2 separate regions of the Homo sapiens genome follow, and region 1 is linked to region 2. The links are contacts of gene promoters, found by promoter capture Hi-C in human tissues and cell types (Jung and others, 2019). All regions are on one chromosome and are shown on one strand. Each heading gives the region's core, a stretch centred on a gene start or on the middle of the fragment in contact. The rest is flanking DNA. Distances are from core to core; before and after follow the strand shown.

Region 1 (4,748 bases), core at 2,213-4,712, 72 kb before region 2:
TTAGTAAGTGCCGTTTTTATAAGCCTCTGCATTGACCCATGGATGCATGGTATGACACAGTACCCGACAAGAATAAGTACACCCATTACGGCTATGAGGGAAGTAAGAATTGAGGCTATTACTCCTTTCCATTTACTGAACCACTTTTTTAGCCATCCTGTAAAGGGGTCATTTACCCCTGAGTTGTTGGCTAACTCATTGGATACAGCAGTCAGATCTAGCAATGCCTTTGTTATACCTCCATTAGGGACGGTATTGTTTGGGATGAAGATGCAACATTGAGTTTTAATCATGATGCAAACTCCTCCTCTGTCTACTAATATCATGTCTAAGGCTATCCTATTTTCCCAAGCCATCTGGCTAGCAGCCCTTAATTGTTCAGCTATTCCTTTAAGAGCAACTTTAGTGTAGTTAATAAATCACTGTTGGTTGTAGTAGATATAGTTTATCCAATCTACATTTTTATTAATTGTCACCTACCAAAATATTGACTTAAATCCTGTAGCTATTTGATTTCAGTCTTTAAATTCATCTGGTATTCCCCTTGGGATTCCAACTGTGTCTAAATAGACGTGAGAGTTGAAAGACCCATAAGGGGCTTCTCTAGCTTTACGATGTCTTATTTTTCCTTCCTCTGGTTGATGAAATGCCAGAGTGAAAGGGATAGCCAATTGGACTAAAGCACAAATAAAGCCACTCCAGTTGTTTGGCAGAGTGTTCAGTAAAGGTCCTCCACAATACCACCACACATCTGCTCGGGGACGAACAAACGCTGACTTATTGATAAGCTCTTGAAAATTCTTAAGCTTACTGCATCCCTTAAGGTCTCCAAAAAATGCTAAGTTTCCTCCCTGTCATGAGAGACATGAATTGAACTTAGTGTTGGGAGATGGAAGCTGGATGGCCCTCAGGGGCTGACCCGCGGGGTGCCAGACTTCAGGATATAGCAGAGAGAGAGCTTGGCATGACTTATTACTCCAGGCTGTAGAATCCTGGAAAAGAGCTATCATGCAGCCCACACCCAGTTGACTGGAGGACCACCCTGGTGGAAAGGAGACAATCTGGGCCTCTGGCCTGCCATGCGCACAAGCATAACAATTGCTTTTGTTTAACATGGGGGAAGGAATATTTGATCCATTCCAACCAGGCATTTGCATCTTGGTATCCTGTCTTAATTGCCAAAGTTTGTTTTCAGTCTTTAACTTTTATGATAGCTATCTTGGTCTTGTTGTTAGATGGAAGAAGAGCAATTGTTCCATTGTGAGAGGTTTTGGAAGAAGGCTTAGAGGAAGATGCAGTTGGTGGGGGATCAAAGAAACGAATCTAATAGGGTTTGTCTCTGAAACCTCAGCCCCCATACCATAAAACCGGCTTAAAGAAGGGAACCGGCTTAGAAAAGGGGAAGAACTTTGGGGGTTTGAGATAATAACCTGTATAGAATTACACTGGTTTAGCTGACAGTTAAGGGGAAGGGCTGTCCCTCTAGTAAAATGAATGTATGGTTTTAGGAAATTACAAAAACCGGTTGGGACAGTCCATTCTTGGTCTTTAGTGGTCCACAGAATGTTGGACCAACTATGGCATAAAAGCACTACATCAGGGAACAAGACTCCTGGTTGACACTGGGGTCTTTATTGAAATCTCCTCAGATTAAATGATCCTAATTCACTAATGCCCAGTCTGAGGAAAGTCAGGAGAGACAGAGGTACTTTTCTGAAGTAGAGAGCTGTCTTTGACCTGGCAAGTCCCCACAGCGTATAACAAGGCAAGCATTAAATGCAATAGTTTGAGGTGAAATTGACTTGGTTATGTTAATAACTAGATGGTCAGCAATAGAGCAAGGAAAGAAGAAAGAGTAATAGAATAGATGAAAGTGTTAAATTTTTCTTAGCTTTAATTTGGTAGGGTTTTCCCCTGGGACTATGGCCTACAACTCTGGAGGCAGTGGCACTTTCTTGACTCAGGTGTGATGAGTCCATCCCCTTTTCACTGTATGAACAGCAGTCTCGGTAGTTAGCAGCACAAGGTAGGGTCCTTCCCAGGCTAGCTCAAGTTTTCCTTCCTTCCACCCTTTGATGAGAACGTGATCTTCAAGCTGGTGTTAGTTTACTGGAAGTTCTAGGGGTGGTACCTGTGCTAAAAGACTTTTAGTTTTGAGGGAAAGGAAAGTGGAAGATAAACCAAGTATATAATTTCTAAGAAACTGACCTTTTGTTTTAAATGTGGGGACATCAGCAGTGGACTTTGTAGTCCTTGGTACCTTCTTACTGAGAAATTTCCTTTAGCACCTATTTTTATTAGTTTTTAGACTAAAAAAAGTCAAACACCATTTTATATTCGACAGTGGTTCCCGTATGATTTTTATACCAGATAAGCTAAATTTCAACTTTATATTAGTGTGTTATTAATGTTAAACTCAATTGTAATAAAACATTGTAGACATATTTATCTAATTTTAATGTCTGACCATAAGGTAAGTTTTTATAGACTCTTTTTAACCTTTTATATTTGTGTTAAGGAGCAGGTTAGTGCTTTAAGAAAAACCTGTTGTGCTTTTATTTTAATGTCCAGTTCACAGAAAAACTGGATGATATCTCTTTAACTTTAGCCAATATGTTTACACACAGAACTTCCTTTACAATTAACCTTTCAAAACTTGCTTAAACCTTTAAAACAAAAATTTTTTAACCTTTTGACATAGGTAAAAATCCACATTCTTATGCCTCCTTATAATCCTTTTACCAAAGGTATATTTTACTTTCCTTATACACCTTGCACATAAACTGTTTCTTCAATAGTTTTACATTCAGGAGGCCTAAATACTTTTAAATTATACAACATTTCTTGCATAAATTCCCTTTTATAATATTTTTTCACGACTTTTACAGACAATTCTTTGACATGCACCAACTTTCTGACTTGTTGCAAACATCCCTTTTTTTAAACAACCAGTTAATTTATTTTTAGGACAAGAATTTACCATATAACATTCCTTTTTACATACATTCTCCCCCTCCCCCCCACCTTTTGTTTTTTCTCAAAGATGATAAGCATTCTTTTCCAAAGCGAACTTTCTTCATTTCTGTGGACTATACTGTCTAAGGCCAAAAGATTAGAAGTTAGGATAATATATATTACACTGTTAACTTTTAGCAAACTTTACTTTTGTTGAAAACCTTGTAAGTTTGGGATTTCAATTATTGTTTGCTATTAATAAGACCTTGTTCAGTCCATATTAACTTAGTATTGATATAGATGGCTCCTTCCTGATTCTGTAAGTACTTTAAGGTTTGGATGAGTGCAAACAGCTTGCACGTTTGAGCAGCGCAATTATTAGGCAATTTTCCTAACTCTGCTTCTACAAGAATTTCCTTATCACTCACTGAATACCCATTGTGTCTTTTTCCCTCAATCGCCCGGAAGGAACCATCTATTGTCCTGTCCTGAAGGGAGTTTCTCCTAGGTCTGGTCAGACCTTTGTATGGTAATTAATTAAGATTTAGATCCCCTGGGCCTGGTGCAGTGGCTCATGCCTGTAATCCCAGCACTTTGGGAGGCGAGGCGGGTGGATCACGAGGTCAGGAGATCAAGACCATCCTGGCTAACACGGTGAAACCCCATCTCTACTAAAAATATAAAAAATTAGCTGGGCATGGTGGTGGGTGCCTGTAGTCCCAGCTACTTGGGAGGCTGAGGCAGAAGAATGGCATGAGCCCAGGAGGTGGAGCTTGCAGCGAGCCAAGATGATGCCACTGCACTCCAACCTGGGCGACAGAGTGAGACTCTGTCTCAAAAAAAAAAAAAAAGATTTAGATCCCCAGTTAGGAAACCTGCTGAGTTAAGGGAATTATCAGTGGTTAATGTTAAATCATCTTTTTCTAACAGAATAGCCCCATACTTTAAGATTTTGGGGTTAGTAAGCTACCTTTTTGCCTTTTTTTTTTTTTTTTTTTTTTTGACTTAGGATAGTTCTGAACTGGTGAGGTGTGCTCACAATGAAGTTTCCTCTAAAAGTTATTTTTCTACTTTCTTCTGCTAGGAAAGCAGATGCCACTACAGATTGAATGCATTTGGGCCATCCGTGGGTTGCTGGGTTAAGGATTTTTGATAGGAAGGCTATGGGTTGTCAGTGGCCTCAGTGCTTTCGGGCTATGCCCTTGTTTACACTGACAACAAGGTGGTATTGGAGTGTTACAGTGTCATGGAGAAGACCTTCAATTATCAATTATAGGTTTTAAATTTACCCAGGCTTTTAAAGGAATAGGGTACATTGTTTTCTCTTTACCACTTCTCTTTCTCTCTTCCTTTCTCTCTTTGACTTTCTGTGTCTTTCTCTCTCTCTCTATTTGACTCCCTCTTTGTCTCTCTGTCTCTTCCTCTCTCTTTCTGCCTTTTTCTCTTTCTTTTTCCTCTCTCTCTTTTCCCTCTCTCTCTCTCCCTTTCCTCTCTCTTAGTTCTGGGATTCTTTAACCCTGCTTCCCCATACTTTTTAGGGGGCCTGGTAGACAAGGACCTTGGTCCTCCTAATGGAGGCTGGAGTCCTTTAAAAGTTGGTTCGGAATCTTTATAGTTTCTGGCTCCCTGGAAACTCTGCCTAGAAGTACCTGGGTTTGGAGCCATCTGTTGGAAGGTGGAAGACAAGCTTTGTCTTTTGTTTCTGTTTTCCTTCATCCCTTTTCACGTATACTTTCTGAGCTTCCCTAAGAAGCTCACTTAGGGGATGGTCTTCCCAATTATCTATCTTTTTT
Region 2 (4,383 bases), core at 870-3,369:
GAAGCTGAAGCTTCAGTAGATTCAAGATCATCTTCTTCTGCCATGAAAAGGGTTTGAACCAGGCGGGCACAGTGGCTCATGCCTGTAATCCCAGCACTTTGGGAGGCCAAGATGGGTGGATCACCTGAGGTCAGGAGTTCAAGACTAGCCTGGCCAACATGGTGAAACCCCGTCTCTACCAAAAAAAAAAAAAAGAAAAAAAATTTGCTGGGCATGGTGGCGTGCACCTGTAATGCCAATATTTGAAAGGCTGAGGCAGGAGAATCACTTGAACCTAGGAGACAGAGGTTGCAGTGAGCTGAGATCCGCCATTGCACTCCAGCCTGGGTGACCGAGTGAGACTCCAGCTCAAAAAAAAAAAGAGTTTGAACCTTCTTTGGAGCCAACCCAAACTGTATGTGAATCCAAGCTCTGCACCTCAGAGAGAATAAGTCACTTGCTTGGTCGTACACAGCCAATGAGGAAATCTCCCTCCTCTGCAAAGCAGAGAAAATCACATTGGGAGAGCAGTGCAGGTCAAATAAGATAATATGGGCAAATATACATAAGCACACATACAGCACATGGCATGTAGGCTACTCCTTCCCCTTCCCTCTCCAGTGCATGGCTGTTGACTGAGGGAACTGAGGAGAGAGAAATCAACGGCCCTAGATTGGTGAGGAGCAGGGCTAACAGGACCCAGGGAGAGCTGGCTTTTCTCGGCCCACCAAGACATCTACTCCAGGAAACCTTGGCTCTGCCTCTGGCTCCTGGGAAATCCACGGCAAGACTCAGTCTCCACATCCCTATATGGGACTTGCAGAATACTTGCCTTAGCTTTGTCCCAGCACTTTGGGAGGCAGATTCAGAACATCTGTGCAATTTAAAGTGTGTCTTTTCAGCAAAAGAGCCAAGCCTAAGGAGACTCAACAAGGGTTTCGGCCAATTAGGCCTGAAAACTGCTGCACATTCTAAAACCATTGATTCATCTTCCTTCTTCTCTGCAAATCCCTGACCCTTGCTCACAGTAGATCATGTAGGGCTAGACCAAGGGATGGGGGGTGCTCTGTTCCCTCAAAGGCCCCTGGCAGGGGGAGGGGGGGAATGCTGAGTCCTCAGCTGTGGAGACCTCTCCCAGGAGCACACAGAGGAGGGATCTCCTCTATCTGAGAACACATCCACCCAAGGGCATCCTGGGAAGTGGCCTGGCTTGGGCTTGAAGTGACCTGTACCCCCATAAATGGCCCAACCAGGAAAAGGAAAACAGGCTGCATTTCCAAGCACCCTCCAGTGTCAGAGCAGGAGAACGAGGAAGCCCAAGGAGCTTTACCAGCAGCCAAAAAGGTTCCTGGGCTTACCTGTGTCTTCAAGTTATCAGCATCCAGGACCCCAATAGCAGTGCCTTGCTTTGTGTAAATACCCTCTAGGAATGAGATCTCGTGCCTCTCGGGCAGTTCAGATCTATCTTGGCCAGCTCTGTGCAAGTCTGTCCTAAGATGGGGCTTAACTCTGCCTTCAGGCCCTTCACTCTTCCTTGGAAGGTTTGAAGAGTGGGTCAGCTGCCCCTTCATGGTCCCAGACTGGGCACTGACTGGGAATGGGGAGCAGAACTGCCTCTCACCCTGGTGGACACCTGAGGGTCCTCCCTGCTGCCCACCACACAGATCAGACCCTTTGGGAGAGGTGGTCCAGCCTGGGGAACAGGGCAGGAATGGGTTGAGATCACAGAGAGGGGGTCCTGATAACCCCTTACCATCTGCTGCCCATCCATCACCCTTTCTCTTTGCCTTTGGTCTCACGCGGCTTATAGAACCTGCTTAGACTGCTAAGGCAAGGCCCTCTCGGCCGCTCCACTAACTTTTCTTCTGGAATGCTTAGCTCAGAGAAGACAGCTAAGCCCCTGAAAGTCACAGAGGAAGTTGATGAGAAAAGAAAACTGCGAAGCCCAAGCCCCACCAGGACTTAAGTACCCTGGGAAAGCCTCAGGACAACTTGGGGGAAAGACACTCCTGTCCCCCATGGTGTCCTCCTGTCCAGGACTGGGGGCCGCCGGCAAAGGGGGCGTGGCGGGCGGGGAGTCCTCTTGTCACGCCCTCCTGCCCCCGCCCGCGGCTGGGAGCCTGTCGCTCCGCTCTGCGCCGCTAATTGGTCTCGTCAGGCGGCCGGCAGGAGCAGATCCGAGCCGTGTCATCCTCTTAGCGCCCTCACGCCACCCGCCGCTCCCGCCCCGTGCCCCCTCCCGCCGCGGCTGCAGTCGCCGCTACCCCCATTGTGGTCTCTGCCCTCCCCGCGGGCCCAGGGCATGCTCCGTGCCCCTGCGCCCGGTCTCGGCGGCGGCAGGCGACACTCCGCGCCGGCGGAGACATGAGGCGCTGCCGGTGGGCCGCCCTGGCCCTGGGGCTGCTGCGCCTCTGCTTGGGTGAGTGGCCGCTGGGCCGCGCTGGCCGCGTGGATGGCGAGGGAGATGGGCGCTGGCGTCACCCAGGTGGCCAGAGGGACATGGTCCTGGACCACTTCCAGAGTGGGACTCGGGCTGGTGGACGGGAGCGGAGAAGTCCTTCCATCTTCCTGGCCCATTCGGTAGTGGGGAGTGGGGTAGCGGAGTAGTGGGGAGCTCCGGGGCGCTTCTCCAGAGCTGGCATCCTAGGGCCCCAGGGTTTGGCGCCCGGACCCCCGCTGCTCTCCGCTTGCTGGGAACCAGAGCTGTAGGCTTGGTGGCAGCTCCGATGCTGCGTGGGGCAGGAGATAGTGCCCTGACTCGCGGCTTGACCTTGGCTGGGCTGGGGCACTGCCCCTCTCCGAGCGCGGGTGCAATCTGCCCATTGATGAAGGAGGGGTTGGATTGCTACCTGGGTTCTAAGCGCCCACATGCTACGTGTCCCTGACAAGCCCGAGCCCACCGGGGGCGGAGTGGGGGTCAGGGGCATCCTCTGGGCGGCGCCCCAGTGGGGTCCCTCGGTGCACTTGGGTTGGGGAGGCGGAGCGCCCTCCTGCCCAGTAGCTGGGCCTGACGCGGGACCGCGCTGGTGCGAAGCTCCCTCCTGGTGTCTGGGTGTCCTTTGCCTGGGTGTCCGTCTGTTCTGTGTTCTTTTTCCAGCTCAGGCCAACTTCGCCCCGCACTTCTTCGACAACGGGGTCGGCAGCACCAACGGAAACATGGCTCTGTTCAGCCTCCCAGAGGACACCCCTGTAGGTGAGTAGCCCTGGCACCTGCTCCCGATAGGTCTCCCTGAGGGGTGCAGGCAGACTTAGAACACAAAGTGCCCCAGGCACCACCCAAGTTGCTGCGCGCGCCCGGGGGCTCCTTGTTTGCTCTCCGAATTCCCCTGGGCAATGGCAGGAAAGAAGGTCATTGCTGCCATGGCGACTTAAGTCTGGCCAGTCCTGGAGACCAGGGCTCCCCCCCACAGACAGGGTCGCCCCGCGAGGCAGGCAGCTACAGCTGCCCCTTATGGCTGTGTGACCTTGAACAAATGTATTTACCTCCCTGAGCCCCAGGTCTCTAGGCTTTAAAACGGCCTAAGAACATCCAACTTGCTGAGATATGCAGAGAGAGGGGAGGAGAAAGGGGAGATTTCACACTCCTTCTCCCTCACTTTGTGGGTAGTGGGAACCCGGGGAAAAGGGAGAGCAGAGCAAAGTAGGCACCTGGCTCAGAAATCCCTGCAGAACCAGGTCCAGGCATCGGGGACAGTGGTGCACTGTGGGTCACCCCTCCTGCCTTAATGGCTGCTCCCATTTCCCCTTCCCTGTACCCAGGAGCCCCTCAATCTTGGATCCTGAGAGAGGAGTTATTACCAGGCTGAGCAGAACATAGGCACTACAGTTAGGCACGGCAGACCTGCACCTGCTCTGTAACCCGTGTTATAGATTACAATCTGGAAAGTGGCTGATCATCACAACCACCCGCTGTGAAGAATAAACATACAAAGAGGGAAGCAGCCAGCAGGGGTGAGGCCAGCAATGAGCACCAAGTTCAGGGCAGTACCTTTGGCACTGAGTTGAATAGTCACTTTATAAACAGCTGAATCGTTGGTCCTGAGCATCTGCCACTTTTAGGAAAAGTTGGGTCTCAGATTCTATGTCTCTCCACTGTGTTTCCTTCCAGGCTCTCACGTATACACCCTGAATGGGACAGACCCTGAGGGAGACCCCATCTCCTACCACATCAGCTTTGACCCCAGCACTAGAAGCGTCTTTTCTGTTGACCCCACTTTTGGAAACATCACCCTGGTTGAAGAGCTGGACAGAGAGGTATGGGGAGGTGTGGGGAGTGCTGCGGGGCCACTGCCTGTAGACAGACCTCGGTGGGCTGAAGTTCCCCTGGAGCACATTGGTTAGAACCTCTCCACAGAGTAGGGGATGAGGGGGCACACCCCAGGCACATCCACTCTGTGAGATCTC

The links. Contacts are between HindIII fragments. The study calls those that stand out against the background at their distance.
Region 1: a fragment that was not itself captured here is called in contact with the fragment with the promoter of CDHR1 in region 2 in 2 of the 25 tissues and cell types used here (H1 embryonic stem cells and liver).

The regions. Positions count from the first base shown.
Region 1 is chr10:84,119,179-84,123,926 of GRCh38, forward strand. No RefSeq gene overlaps it. Among named protein-coding and RNA genes, the nearest start is that of GHITM, 18 kb to the right of the region's middle. The HindIII fragment of the contact is 6,156 bases long and covers 385-4,748 here.
Region 2 is chr10:84,192,418-84,196,800 of GRCh38, forward strand. CDHR1 (cadherin related family member 1) reads left to right here and starts at 2,120. Exons shown (of 17, transcript NM_033100.4): 1 at 2,120-2,398; 2 at 3,077-3,172; 3 at 4,088-4,233. The coding sequence starts at 2,344. RefSeq lists silencers at 2,016-2,145, 2,216-2,335. The HindIII fragment of the contact is 10,516 bases long and covers 1-4,383 here.